2 separate regions of the Homo sapiens genome follow, and region 1 is linked to region 2. The links are contacts of gene promoters, found by promoter capture Hi-C in human tissues and cell types (Jung and others, 2019). All regions are on one chromosome and are shown on one strand. Each heading gives the region's core, a stretch centred on a gene start or on the middle of the fragment in contact. The rest is flanking DNA. Distances are from core to core; before and after follow the strand shown.

Region 1 (6,875 bases), core at 4,345-6,844, 58 kb after region 2:
GTCTTGCTCTGTTGCCCAGGCTGGAGTACAGTGGTGCGATCTTGGCTTACTGCAGTCTCCACTTCCCGGGTTCAAGTGATCATTTCAACAGGGAATTCAAGTTGGAGATTTTTTTGAGACAGAGTCTTGCTCTGTTGCCCAGGCTGGAGTGCAGTGGCATGATCTTGGCTCACTGCAACCTCCACCTCCTGGGTTCAAGCAATTTTTGTGCCTCAGCCTCTCAAATAGCTGGGATTACAGGTGTGCGCCACCACACCCGGCTGAGTTTTGTATTTCTAATGGAGACGGGGTTTCACCATGTTGGCCGGGGTGACCTCAAGTGATCCACCCACCTCGGCCTCCCAAAATGCTGGGATTACAGGCGTGAGCCACTGCGCCTGGCTGGGTCTATAGCATTTTAGTAATAGATTACTAATCTTGTACCTGAATACAGGTTATTTTTGCCAGAAATCAGAAGCCTGGGAATAGAGTTGATCTGCTTAGTCAAGCTGTACCATTTGCAACCTGCTAAATGCAATATGGGGATAATATGCCAACTTACTGTAGCATCAAACGTCCTCTTTAAGGTAAGCAGTTCAAAAATGACGCAGCCAACTGCCCAGATATCAGACTTGAAATTGTACTTTACTCCTTGACAGAGCTCTGGAGACATGTAATATGGGGTTCCCACAAGCTGAGCAACAAAGAAACAATCAAAGAATAACTTCTTTTCTGAGGTAACTATGTTAACATTTCAACAGCTTAATTAAATTTCCTAGGAACTAGTCATAACAACCATAAAACATTCATCAGCAGATTCCAAAATGGTTTTTATGAGACGATGCCACTATGGAAAGAAATCTTATTCATATCAAACCTCTTGGGTCAATTATAAAGGGACAATCTCTGTGACAAAGGAACTGTGGTAACTTGAGGGGCTCAATAGCTCTGTGATTCCTAGATCACAGAGGCTTCAGGCATTCAAGGCCTACTGAAGACTTTACACAAACTTAAAGACATACTTAGTAGAAGTTCACCAATGGGAAAAAAATCCAAACACTGGCAGTGGGGAGATGGTAACTCAATGAAGGAATTAGATGTTCTAACTAAAATACGCGCAATGAAACTTTTAAAATGCCCAATTTGGCATCTGTTATACTAACACAGCTAGCGAATTTCCTTTGAATTTGAAAAAGATTTTCTGACTTCAAAAATAAATTTGGAAATAAAAATGTCCTAAGAAGTCATGCCTCTCCCAAGATGAGATATAATGAATGCCCTAGCAGCTCTAATAAAATTCATAGTCAGCTTTAAGCAGCAAAGCAAAGCAAATTTCAGATGGCTTACATGGCTTTTATAAATTTTCATATCATTCCTTCTTTGCATTTAACTAGCTAAAAAAAGTCAAGTCTTGGTTTTATCAGATTGTTCTTGATGAGAAAAATCCATATAAAGATATGATTGCTTCTTCAGAAGCTCACTTTGGCCTCCATCATAGAAACATCTGAGTCCCTGAAGCAGAGACTCCAAACCCTAAACATCTAAATTGCTTGCAGGCAAACCTTGACATTATTAAAAAAAAAATTATTGGCCAAAATCAGTTTTCAATTTCTTTTAAGGACAGAGCATTGTGAAACTAGAAGAATAACAACTGGGTTTTATAATTCCTAAAAGGATAAGATTACTGTCCTAAAGATCAACTTATGTCTACTCTTTACCAATGATCTTTCTCAAAATCATGTGAGAAGGGACCCCTGTGCAGTTCAGACTGTGTATAATATTAAAGAATGGATTGTTCTCTGAGCATCAGCCTTCACTTGAAATATAGGGTTCTCTTTGAACCAGAAGCATTCAAAGGAAAAACAAAGAGATGTCTAACACCTTGAGCTCAAACATTAAATAAGAGATAAAGTGAAATCTACTAAAGATCCTAACCTGGACAAAACAGTAAAGCATTTTGCTGCTTTTAGATAAGTCCCTAATCAGTGCTGGAAAAAGGCTATGAGGTCAGAGCTGTAACGTGGGCAATGACTTAAATGCCTGCTAGTGGGCCCAGGAAAAAGACTTCTGAAGACATGCATTAAAAGTATGGAGAACTTGCAAGAATATTGAGAAAAGTATGCAAGATTTAGGGAGTACAGTTATATTTCACAGTGCTAGAAAATAAAATAAAAATTAAGACAAGGGCAACACATACCGTCTCAGCCATGGAATACTCAGAATTAAGTTTCTTTGCTAGGCCATAATCTCCAAGTTTTATCAGGTTTGCCTTGGTCAGAAAAATATTTAATGTCTTTATATCTCTGAAAAAAAAAGATGCTGCAAATTAAGTTCACACAGATAATTGTTTTATTTCATCCCCCGCCTTGCCCAGGATTATTACAGAATAAAAATGAGTGTGGGCCGGGTACAGTGGCTCACATCTGTAATCTCAGCACTTTGGGAGGGCAAGGCAGGAGTACTGCTTGAGGCCAGGAGTTCTTCACCAGCCTGGGCAACATGGTGAGACCCCATCTCTACAAAAAATAAATTAGTCAGGAGTGGTGGCATACACTTGTAGTCCTAGCTTCTCGGGAGGTTAAAGCACCGAGAATCAGTTGAGCCCAGGAGGCTGAGGCTGCAGTGAGTCATGATTGCACCACTACATTCCAGCCTGGGCAACAGGGTGAGACCCTGTCTCAAAAACTAAAACAAAATAAAACAAAAAAAGAGTGTTACCATTGCTCATTCATTTAGGATATCCTAAACATCCCACAGTGGTCATCACTTTCACATGCTATTTAACACTGAAGTGGGGACTTTAAAGGAGTGAAGGCAGAGAATTAACTTCATCCTCTAGGGCTTCACAGCATAGAAATATCTCCCATACTACTGAAGCTATTAGGAAAAGTTGAGACGGTCAGATGAGGAAAATGGTGCTCTAGGTAACCATAATTCCCATAAGATACCACACCTCTTCAACTATCACTTATGCCTTGAATTAAGTGATATCAAGGCAACTTTAACAAACTTGGTTGGTGTCAAAGTTTCAAATAATCTGTTAAGGCAAGAGAAGAGGCCTACATGTCCCTGCAATGATATGATTAGGCCATTTAGTCATCTAAATAAAATCACAGGCTATTTTTCTAAAGATAAATTGACCATATGTAAAACAAAATAACTGTGCCTGGTTCACTATGTCTTCCTTTATTGAAAGATGCGAATAAACCAGAACAATATACTTTGTTACTTTTAAAAAGAAAATAACAACATGCAACAGAAGCCATTTAATAGCTATCAAGAAATACATGTTAACTGAATGAACAAACCAATAAAAAAAGAAATCTTAGTGTATTATAATTAATCTCTGGCACCAGTCAATGACTCACTTAAGAAGGGCATAATGATGTGAAAATGTTATTGAGATGCTTCTCTTCTATAGCTAGAAATGAATGCAATCATGCTTGTTTTTAAAGATCTGGTAAATTTGTACAAGTAAATATACAGAGTGAAGAGGCTTTTATTTAAATTAAAAGATCTTAATTATAGAATTAAAAAGAATTGCCAATTATTATTGCTGTGAATTCTTACCAAATACTACTTCTCATAGTGCCCTTCTAGGCTTTACTGATGAATTAACAAACTGAACTCTAAAATTTTTGTCTGTAAAATGACTTCAGTAGTACTTGGCTACTGAGGAGACTCTTCCTAGATCATAAACATGGTTTAACCTCAGGGAGTGAAAATAATATTGCTCATTACTTTCCTTTCCTAGTGATATCAATGGAAAAACTCTTGGCTGCTTAACCAAGAAAATAAAAGTGTTGTTGGGGGGGTATCCACGGTAGGGGCTGAATTGGTAGGGAAGAATCCATCCATAATTTTTTTTACTTCTTACCTATGAAGGATTCCAGCTTTATGGATGCAGCTCACTGCTGAAACAATCTGAAATAGGTACCACACCACCATCTGCAGAGAAAAAATAAATATTTGGATTAGAAACAAAAAGCTCCATTTAAGTAAATACACACACACATAAACAAACAAAACAAAGAAAACTGCAACCAGAAGTTATGATTCAACATGACTTGACATCTCTTCCTTGCAGGTTGAGTAGGCAAAGAAAAGTGAAGGGGTAAAAAACCACAAAAAACAGGTTCCTCATAAAATAGTTCCAATGTCATTATAATATATAGTATGGTAAAGCAGACATGTAGGAAAATTCAGGAAGAATGCAAAGTTATAGAAAACTGGGCATACCAGTACGCAGTAATAGAACCAGGAAAGAAAGCCCACAGAGAATCATGATGTGGAGGTAAAACGTTTAGGAAGCAGCTATAGACAGCTTCCTTGTTAGAGGTTTCCTTTCTCATGAATATCAGAGCCTGGAAGGAGTCTGAACAAAAGGAAAAAAACACTCTTCACTATTGGAAGAGTAAATACAGAACTAGAATGCAAGAATTACAACACTACAATTCTAACTTCCTTCCACAGAAATATGAATTACCTCTTCCTCAAACAACTTGTCCTTCTGACGAAGGATTTTGTCATACAGGTTCCCTCCTGCAATTAAACAAGACACAGATTTGAATTGCTTAATACAGATCAAAGCTTGGCTCCTGTAACAGGTTTTTTTAGGTGACACAAGGAAATGAAGGATTCTGCTTTCTCTCCATAGGCAACTACTTCTTTTGACTTTTCACATGGGCACAAAACTCTTCCCATCTCTCAAGGACCGCATCAGAAATATTCTTCAAAGATCTCCCTCTCTAACACAAGAGGCGTAATTAAAAAAAAGACATTTTTAGAAAAGATGTGAGTAAAGACCATTCTTGTTGTTCCCAACAAGTGAAGTATATTCAAAATCAGATTTCTTTTCTAGAACTCTCCTTTAAGGACTCTACAATATTTTTGTAACAACTCTCCCAGTTGTGACTACTATAACATCTGGATTAGGCTGGGCACATTGGCTCACGCCTATAATCCCAGCACTTTGGGAGGCTGAGGTGGGCAAATCATTTGGGTTTGGGAATTTAAGACCAGCCTGGGCAACACGGCAAAACCCTTGTCTCTACCAAAAATACAAAAAGTTAGCCAGCTGTTGGGGCATGTGCCTGTGGTCCCAGCTAATCAGGAGGCTAAGGTGGGAGGGTCGCCTGAGCGTGGGAGGATCGCCTGAGCCTGGGAGGCGGAGGTTGCAGTGAGCTGGGATCGCACCACTGCACTCCAGGCTGGGTGACAGTGAGAGTCTATCTCAGGAAAAAAAGAAAAAAATTGGGTTACACCTGTGATGCAATGTTTTGTATTTATAGGGTATATATTGACAAATTTTCTACTTCACACCGAAATATTTCCCAAAATTTAGGGTCTACCCCTAGACTGTTTCCTATCATTACTCTCTTTACTAATTTCTTCCTGTGGAATAAGTGTGAATTTACTTCTCTCTTTCCTTTACCAAGTAATACAGACTGCAAGTAATCATGGTTCATCTTACATCCCACCTGCAACTATAACTTACACTTTAGCCCTGGGTAAGTTTTTACAACTTCTTTTCCCCTGCAACTTAATAACTCAGTTTCAATAAATGTATCATTTGTTCCAGTTCTTCCTAACCACAAAAGAAGTTAACTACCTAGGGCTTCTGCTACTTCGAAAATTTTTAACAGAATCTTGTATATGGCATTGATCACCAATGATCATAATATACAAGAGTTTACACAAGGAAGTCGTAAGTGACGAATATGCTGGGACCTCTTTAGCATGCAGTTCAGAAAAGGGCTTTGGAGGTTCTCCTGTGCAATAAGATGATTAACAGCTAGTACAGTATGTAGCAAACACTTTCTACCTACCAAGCACTATGCATGTAATACAACAATCCTAGAAAGTAGGTACTGTTATCAACAAACTTTTTTTTTTTGAGATGGAGTCTCGCTCTGTCACCAGGCTGCAGTGGCATGATCTCCACTCACTGCAACCTCCAACTCCCTGGTTCAAGCGATTCTCCTGCCTCAGCCTCCCGAGTAGCTGGGATTACAGGCACGCGCCACCATGCACAGCTAATTTTTGTTATTTTTAGTAGAGACTGGGTTTAACCATGTTGGCCAGGATGGTCTCGATCTCCTGACCTTGTGATCCTCCCAAAGTGTTGGGATTACAGGCGTGAGCCACCACGCCCAGCTTTTTTTTTTTTTTTTTTTTTTTTGAGACAGGGTCTGGCTCCATCGCCCAGGCTGGAGTGCAGCGGTCTGAGCTCACAAGCTCACTGCAACCTCTGCCTCCCAGTCTCAAGCCATCCTCCCTCCTCAGCCTCCCAAGTAGCTGTGACTACAGGTGCACACCACCCAGCTAATTTTTTGTATTTTTGGTAGTGACAGGGTTTCACTATGTTGCCTAGGCTTTCCTCAAACTCCTATGCTCAAGTGATCTGCTTGTCTTGGCTTCTCAAAGCGCTGGGATTACAGGTGTGCACTGTCCCTGGCCAACAAACTCATTTTAAAATGACAAAACTGCTGGGCATGGTGGCTTAAGCCTGTAATCCCAGCACTTTGGGAGGCGGAGGTGGGCGGATCACCTAAGGTCAGGAGTTCGAGACCAGTCTGGCCAACGTGGCAAAACCCTGTCTCTACTAAAAATACAAAAATTAGCTGGGCGTGGTGGCGCATGCCTGTAATCCCAGCTACTTGGGAGGCTGAGGCAGGAGAATTGCTTGAACCCAGGAGGCGGAGGTTGTGGTGAGCCAAGATGGCACCATTGCACTCCAGCCTTTACTCCAACAAGAGTAAAACTCCATCTCAAAAAAAATAATAATAATAATAAAAATAAAATGAGGAAACTGAGGCACAGAGAAGTTAAGTTTCTTGCCAAGGTTATAGAGCTAGAAAGTAGAGAAACTTGGTTTTAGAGTCTATTTTCTTAAC
Region 2 (7,317 bases), core at 723-3,222:
GATCGTGCCATTGCACTCCAGCCTGGGCAAAAAGAATGAAACTCTGTCTCAAAAAAAAAAAAAAAAAAAAAAAGAAAAGAAAAGAAAAAGAGGTATTGGCTGGGTATGGTCACTCATGCCTGTAATCCCAGCACACTGGTGGGAGGCCGAGGCAGAAGGATCACTTGAGCCTGGGAGTTTGAGACCAGCCTGGGCAACATAGCTCTCTGTTAAAAGAGAAAAAAAAAAAAAAAGCTGGGTGTGGCGGCATGCACCTGTGGTCCCAGCTACTTGGGAGGCTGAGGAAGGAGGATCATTTGAGCCTGGGAGGTTAAGGCTGCAATAAGCTGTGACTGTGCCACCATCCTTCAGAAAAAAAAAAGAAAAAGGGAAAGAGGTATTGACAATTCACATTCATGTTTCAAAGATTCCTTCCAGGTTAGAATTTGAATTTTAAGTACCACAGTCCCAGGAATGAGACACTTAAGAAGTTCTGCAGTCCTGGCCGGGTGCGGTGGCTCACACCTGTAATCCCAGCACTTGGGGAGGCTGAGGCGGATGGATCACGAGGCCAGGAGTTCAAGACCAGCCTGGCCAAGATGGTGAAACCCTGTCTCTACTAAAAATACAAAAAAAAAAAAAAAAAAAAAAGAAGTTTTGCAGTCCTAACTCATTATCTGTGGGATTAGCGACACACTGGGAAGGCAATAGCCAATACCTACAGAAGGCAGAGGGTAAATTGAGCTTGCATTTGTGTGTGCCTGTTGAGGGAAGATTAGCCACATTAAAGCAGAGGTAGAGGCTGCCAACAGTTTGTCCATCCCCTCAAATAATCCTTTATTGCTCTAGGAAGAATACCAGGCTCCACATTCAGTGTTCCCATCACCTATTCTGGAATGGATAAAGAGTTTTTAATAAGAAAAACGTCAGCTGGAAAAGGTAAATGTTCTTTCAAAACCAAAAAAGAATAGAAAGAAATTAAGTGGAGAACTGAGGGAAGCTTGGAGAAAGAGGTCTGAAGAAAGTGCAGCAGCTGCAGAGGAAGCATTTATATATGTTATATACATGACATCAGGTCATCTAAATGCCAGCTCTTCAATCAATGTTAGCCTTTCTATAAGAAACCTGACTTGGTTTGATGATGCCACAACGGCGAGCACTGGGGAAGCCCTCTATTTCCCTTGGAAGAGAGAAGCTCATTAATATGTGTATCTAGATGCTCAGGCACCACTGACTAATAATAACAGCAGGGTGATCTTCCATTTACACCATGTTTTACCGATTGCACAGCATTTTCATACTCATTGCTCTACAAACTACCTCTTTGCCATGCAGCTACCAAATAGCCAGCGGCTTCTAGTTCACATTTGTCAAGAACACGTCCCTTGTTCCTATGCCCACAACCTAGGTTACCACCCCAAAGCCTGCAGGCCACATACCTGAGTATGCTTACGGAAAAACACCCCTTGCACCTTCCCAAAAATTTCATAATCCACTGATATCAGGGTGTTTCCTTCTGCCATGCTCAAACCTGTCAGAAACCAGGAAAGCAGAAGAGTGAAGGGCTATTATTCCAGGACCCGCAAGCCTGAGTCAGAAAGGGCCACACCCACCCCTGTCCATCCTTAACCATTGCGACCTCTCCCCGACTTCAAGGTCCTGGAAATGGAAACGTGAGTGGATGTGATAAGGTGTGTGTGAAGGAAGAACCAGACGCCGGGAGAGGGAGCTTCGGATCGCAGCTGCCCGCTGAAGCCTCTTCTGGGGAAATAACCTGAGGACCGATGACCTCCTTACATCCATGCCCGGTCCCGCTCCCTCACTACCAGAATTCCCTGCTACTAACTCCCAGAATCCCCTGCTACTAACATTTTAGGGCTAATCGACCTGAGAAGCACACCCTGGGGGCCCCTGGCGGCTCACCCTCCTTGTCTTCCCCACCGGCTGCCAGGATCACTCCGGGACCACCACGCCAACGGCTCACCAAGGCGCGCAAACCTCCGCGCCCGGAAGTTTAGTGTGTAGCTGCTCCTTCGCTGTCGCTCATGCCCATCACCTCCAGCTGACCAATCAGAGACGGCGCCTCGGCCCGGGCCCGCCCAGAAGGTGGGATTTCAGGACGCGGTTGTCCGGCAACCCAAAAGCTTTGGGTTGGGGATCTGTCCAGGAACTCGGCTGGGCCTCCACAAACCTAGCCCTCATCGCATCTCAGTCAACAAGCGCAACCCTCTTCTCATTTTCTCATGAGGAGAAAGGCATAGACGAAGAAGTACATGGGGATACATTCAATCATTCAATTAAATACTGACTGACAGCTACTGTGTGCCAGGCACCTGTTCTAGGTGACCAGGCAAACATCAGTGAACAAAACAGGATCCCTGTCCTGAGGAGCTTAATTCTGGAGGTGAGAGACAAACAGCACACATTAAACATCATAAATAGCTTGTAATCTCAGCACTTTGGGAGGCCGACACGGGCGAATCACTTGAGGTCAGGAGTTCGAGAGCAGCCTGGCCAACATGGTGAAACCCCGTTTCTACCAAAAATACAAAAATTGGCCGGGCATGGTGGCGGGCGCCTGTAATCCCAGCTACTCGGGAGGCTGAGGCAGGAGAATCGCTTGAACCTGGGAGGTGGAGGCTGCAGTGAGCCGAGATTGCCCCACTGCACTCCAGCCTGGGCAACAGAGGGAGACTCTGACTCAAATAAATAAATTAATAAATAAAAAAATAAACATCATAAATATGTTGAGTAGGATACATTTAACCTTTCTGTCCTTTTTCATTCAGTTCTCCTTAAAGTTTGGGTCATAACAATCTGGAATAGGGGATTACGGGGCATAAGTGCACAGGAGGTCCCAATGGAGGTTATGTCTGCTTCTGGGCTTCTGGAAGCTACTCACCGGTCTCCTTTACTAAGAAAATGTCAAATAATGCTTGAACAAATAACCAGCTAACTACACAAATAAAGCAAGAGCACAAGCAAAATAACTCATGGCTCCAGAATTACAGTTGAGTCAGTCAATCTAAGCCAAATGGCCAAACTACACGAATTTATTTTGGGAACAGGGAATTGTCAAGGGGGATGTGGATGAAGATGGTTAAAATTAGAGTTGATGTGTAAACATTTGAATCCAGCTACCCTTATGATTCATGTGTGTGAAGGAAAACTGTGGTGTTTATTGATCCTCTGTGGATTGACTGTATACATTACACCTCTTCATAACGTAAAGACTCCTTATGTGAATATGCCAGGTTGGCAGACTTGACAATGAGATATGGGTTTGTGACAGTAGGCACGGAAATTCATCATTCTGCTAGTTCCCCGCTAGAGTGAGGATCCATATCCTAGAGAATCATACAACCTTAGTGCTGAGAGGTGGGGGGTTGGTGGTGAACAAGCTGGATTGAATGTTGTACTTGGCAATATTTGAAAATAACTCTAAATAGAGTATCTTGCTAATGGTATTTCTTTCTCTAAAATTCATTTAAAAAATAGTTTATAGAATTCAAAACTTACTGAGTGTCTAATACGAATGGGGCACTCTAGGATATACAAAGATGAATGATATAAAATCTTTGCCCTCAAAGAGTTTTTAATTTAGTGTAGGGGCACAAATGCATGCAAATAATGACAATAAAATATATGGCATGATAATTTAATTCCATGAAAATCCATTGAGAGCTCATCAGGAACCAGCCCTGTGCTATAACAAGGACAGAAAATATTACAAAGGAGCAAACAAATTAATTCTGATTGGGAAGACAGGGAAAGAGTTCTTGGAGGAAACAGCATTTAATCCAAGGTCACACAACCAGTAAGTGATGGAGCTGGGATTTGGTTCCAGAGTCAATCCCCATGAATGCTATGCTCTACCAGCTCCCAGTATGTGGAGCTTAGAGTAATGTAGTACCATGGAGATGAAGAAGTACAAGTAGCCAGTTGTGGCTAGACCAGGGGTTTGCTACCCTGCTTGTGCATCAGGATCTTTGGGGAAGCTTTAAAAATGTTAATCCTCAGGCCTCACCCCTAGATATTGCTTTCCAAGTAGTCTTAACACACAGTCAGGGATGAGACTCACTGGGTTGAACTCTGTGGCTTATTAAGGGGAGGCAAAACTGAAAAGGTAGGCTGGACCTAATCTGGGAGGTAGAGATGCCATGCTAAATTATGCATTTCAACTTTATTCTATAGGTAAAGAAGAAGCTACTGGGGAGGGAAATGGTAGGATCAGAAGCATTTAGTAATTAGCTTGATTTAATCACTGCACAATGCATACATTATCAAAACATCACTTTGTACACTGCAAATATAGATATAATTTTTGCTTGTCAATTATATTTTAATAAAGCTGGGGGGGGGTGGAGAAATATTTAGACTGATTATTTTGCCTGCAGCATGAAGGATGGGTTTGAAGAGCAGATATTGAAGGCAAGAGCAGAAGTTAGGAGGGCTATGCCATCCCAAGGAGAAGTGAGGAAAAACTCACCTGGGGCAGCAGAAATGTAAAGGAAGAGTCATATATGAGAGACATTGCAGAAGTAAACTCAATAGGCCAGGCGTGATGGCTCACGTTTGTAATCCCAGCACTTTGGGAGGCTAAGGCAGGTGGATCACCTGAGGTCAGGAGTTTGAGACTGATGAAACCCCATCTCTACTAAAAATACAGAAATTAGTTGGGCGTGGTGGTGCACACCTGTACTTCCAGCTACTAGGGAGGCCAAGGCAGGAGGATTGCTTGAACCTGAGAGGCAGAGGTTGCAGTGAGCTGAGATCGCGCCACTCCACCCCCATCTGGATGACAGAGCAAGACTGTCTCAAAGAAAAAAAGGAAGAAAACTCAATAAAACTTGTGATTAGTTAGAAGGAAGAGGCAACAAAGAGGGAAGCATGGAAGACTGATGCTGTGAGCATGCAAGGGCACACTGGAGAGGCAGATTTGAGAATGGGAGAGGATCAGAGTTTATGTTGTCTTACAGAATTTGAGGTTCCTAAGGAACAATCTTGTGGAGGTGTCAAATGGGCAGTCCTGAAATTTGAGTCTGTAACTAATGAGAAAGACTAAAGCTAAGCTGGCTGTCATTTAAACACAGGTGAAACCTGAAATTTCAGCATTTGGTTGAAATCATTAAAGAAGAGAATGTCTGGAACTACACACACACACACACACACACACACACACACACACACACACACATATATATGAAATAAGAGGGCTTCAGAAAACACTTAAATTTAGGGAGTAGATGGGGAAAAGATAAATGCCAGACTTGGAAGAAGATGGAGCAAGAACATGAAAGAAGAAACCAAGAGGGCACAGGAGAACTGAGAAGAGCATTCTAAGTGGGTGGATAATCAGTAATGTCACATGAGTAGGCTGAAAAAATGAAGCTTTTGTCTTTGGAAAGTCACTGGTAGCTTTGTAGTTAAATAAAGTGGAGAAAGTAGAAGACAGGCCACAATGAACTGGACAATGACGGGGAGATGAGGATATGTGGGCAGCAAATGTGGAGATTTCCATTAAGAAGTCTTGTGGAGAAGAGGAGAAATGAATGGGACTGTAATATGAAAGTTAGGTCAAGGGAAGTAAGGTTTGTTTTGCAGGGGAAAGTTGAGTATATGTTAAAACCAAAGAGACAGAGTTTATGGAGAGGTATAACTTGAAGTTAACAAGATGCAGACAGGGTGCCGTCTCTCACGTCTATAATCTCAGTACTTTGTGAGACTGAGGCGGGAGGATCTCTTTTGACTCCAGGGGTTTGAGACCAGCCTGGGTAACAAAGGGAGACCCTGTCTCTACAGAAAAAAAAAAAAGAAGTAAGCTGGGTGTGGGGGGCACACACCTGTAGTCCCAGCTACTCGGGAGGCTGAGGTGGGAGGATCACTTGAGCTGTGGAAGTTGAGGCTCCAGTGAGCAGTGATTGTGCCACTGCACTTCAGCCTGGGCAACAGAGTGAGGCCCTGTCTCAAAAACAAAGGCCAGGCCCGGTGGCTCATGCTTGTAATCCCAGCACTTTGGGAGGCTGAGACAGGCGGATCACCTGGGGTCAGGAGTTCAAGACCAGCCTGGCCAACATGGTGAAACTCTGTCTCTACTAAAAATACAAAAAATTAGCCAGGTGTAGTGGCAGACGCCTGTAATCTCAGCTACTCGGGAGGCTGAGGCAGGAGAATCACTTGAACCCAGGAGGCAGAGGTGGCAGTGAGCTAAGAGTGCGCCACTGCACTTCAGCCTGGGCAACAAAACAGGGCGAGATTCCGTCTCAAAAAACAAAAAACAAACAACTTTAAAAAACCCCAAAAACCAACAAAACAGAAAACAAAACAAAACAAAAATGCAGGGGTAAAGTGATGGAGTCAATTCCCGGAGGGTACTGAAAAGGACTAATTCAAGAGAACTCAATGGAACTCAATGGAAAGTCGCCCTTCTTTCTCATAGAGGAGAGGGAAGGAGAGAGAGAGAGGAGAGAGGGAGACAGACAGAGACAGAAACAGAGGAGAGAGGGAGAGGAGGAAGAAGAGAGAGAGACAGAGAGAGAGAGAAAGAGAAAAAGAAAGCCGGTAAATTCTGCTGAGGGAAGCTGTGGGAGTTGATAATCGGGACCCTGAGTGGAGTGGGAAACGTCTGGAGCTGCATATACGGAGAGGCGGTAGAGTCAACTAGGGATGAAAACGAGGAATTAAAAAAAAAAAAAAGACTGATCTGGAGGGTCCACCAAGGAATTTCCTTGTAACGGGTAACAGCTGTAATATGACATGTTGAAGTATTAACACTGATGACTGCTGTCTACATTATTTTCCATGTGCATGAATTGAGTAGTTACAGGGAAAAAGCGAACTGCCTGTTCCAAACGGCTTACACAGATGAACTGAAGCGAAGAAGAAAAATGAACTTTCTTTTGATGTCAACAAGATAGAGTATCATTTACTGTTGAAGCCAGGTTATACTGATTATTTTCGATCTGGTAGTTAACTTTATCATCATTACATTTGGCTGAGTCATTCCTGGGCCCTAAGTAGAGACGGCTAGAATTACCACGTGAGTAAAACATTATAATATCAAAATAATTAGATTGGCCACAAAAACTACCACGGAAAGATACTGCGTAGCAAAAACGTTGGCAGCAAGTTCCAAAGCCTTGGCGAGGACAAGCAAGGAGCGCGCGCGTGCAGCCATACCTGGGGCCCGCCCAGCGCAGCCGAGCGCGCGGAGAAAGGCCAGCAGCAGCCCCGCTCCCGCCAGGCGGGCGGACGCCGGCATCCTGCGGCGGAAGCACGCGGAGGCACAGCCAGGGCCTCCGCCCTTTGCCAGACAAGGGCACACCCCAAGGTCTGGGA

Evidence for each region. Contacts are between HindIII fragments. The study calls those that stand out against the background at their distance.
Region 1: a fragment that was not itself captured here is called in contact with the fragment with the promoter of ACYP1 in region 2 in 3 of the 25 tissues and cell types used here (mesendoderm cells, psoas muscle and stomach).

What each region holds. Positions count from the first base shown.
Region 1 is chr14:75,116,654-75,123,528 of GRCh38, forward strand. It overlaps NEK9 (NIMA related kinase 9), which reads right to left. Exons shown (of 22, transcript NM_033116.6): 3 at 4,466-4,521; 4 at 3,857-3,927; 5 at 2,177-2,282; 6 at 542-673. Among named protein-coding and RNA genes, the nearest start is that of NEK9, 7.0 kb to the right of the region's middle. The HindIII fragment of the contact is 7,023 bases long and covers 2,084-6,875 here.
Region 2 is chr14:75,062,052-75,069,368 of GRCh38, forward strand. It overlaps ACYP1 (acylphosphatase 1), which reads right to left and starts at 1,973. Exons shown (of 3, transcript NM_001107.5): 1 at 1,903-1,973; 2 at 1,419-1,510. The coding sequence starts at 1,502. RefSeq lists enhancers at 2,144-2,313, 7,233-7,317. The HindIII fragment of the contact is 1,499 bases long and covers 1,552-3,050 here.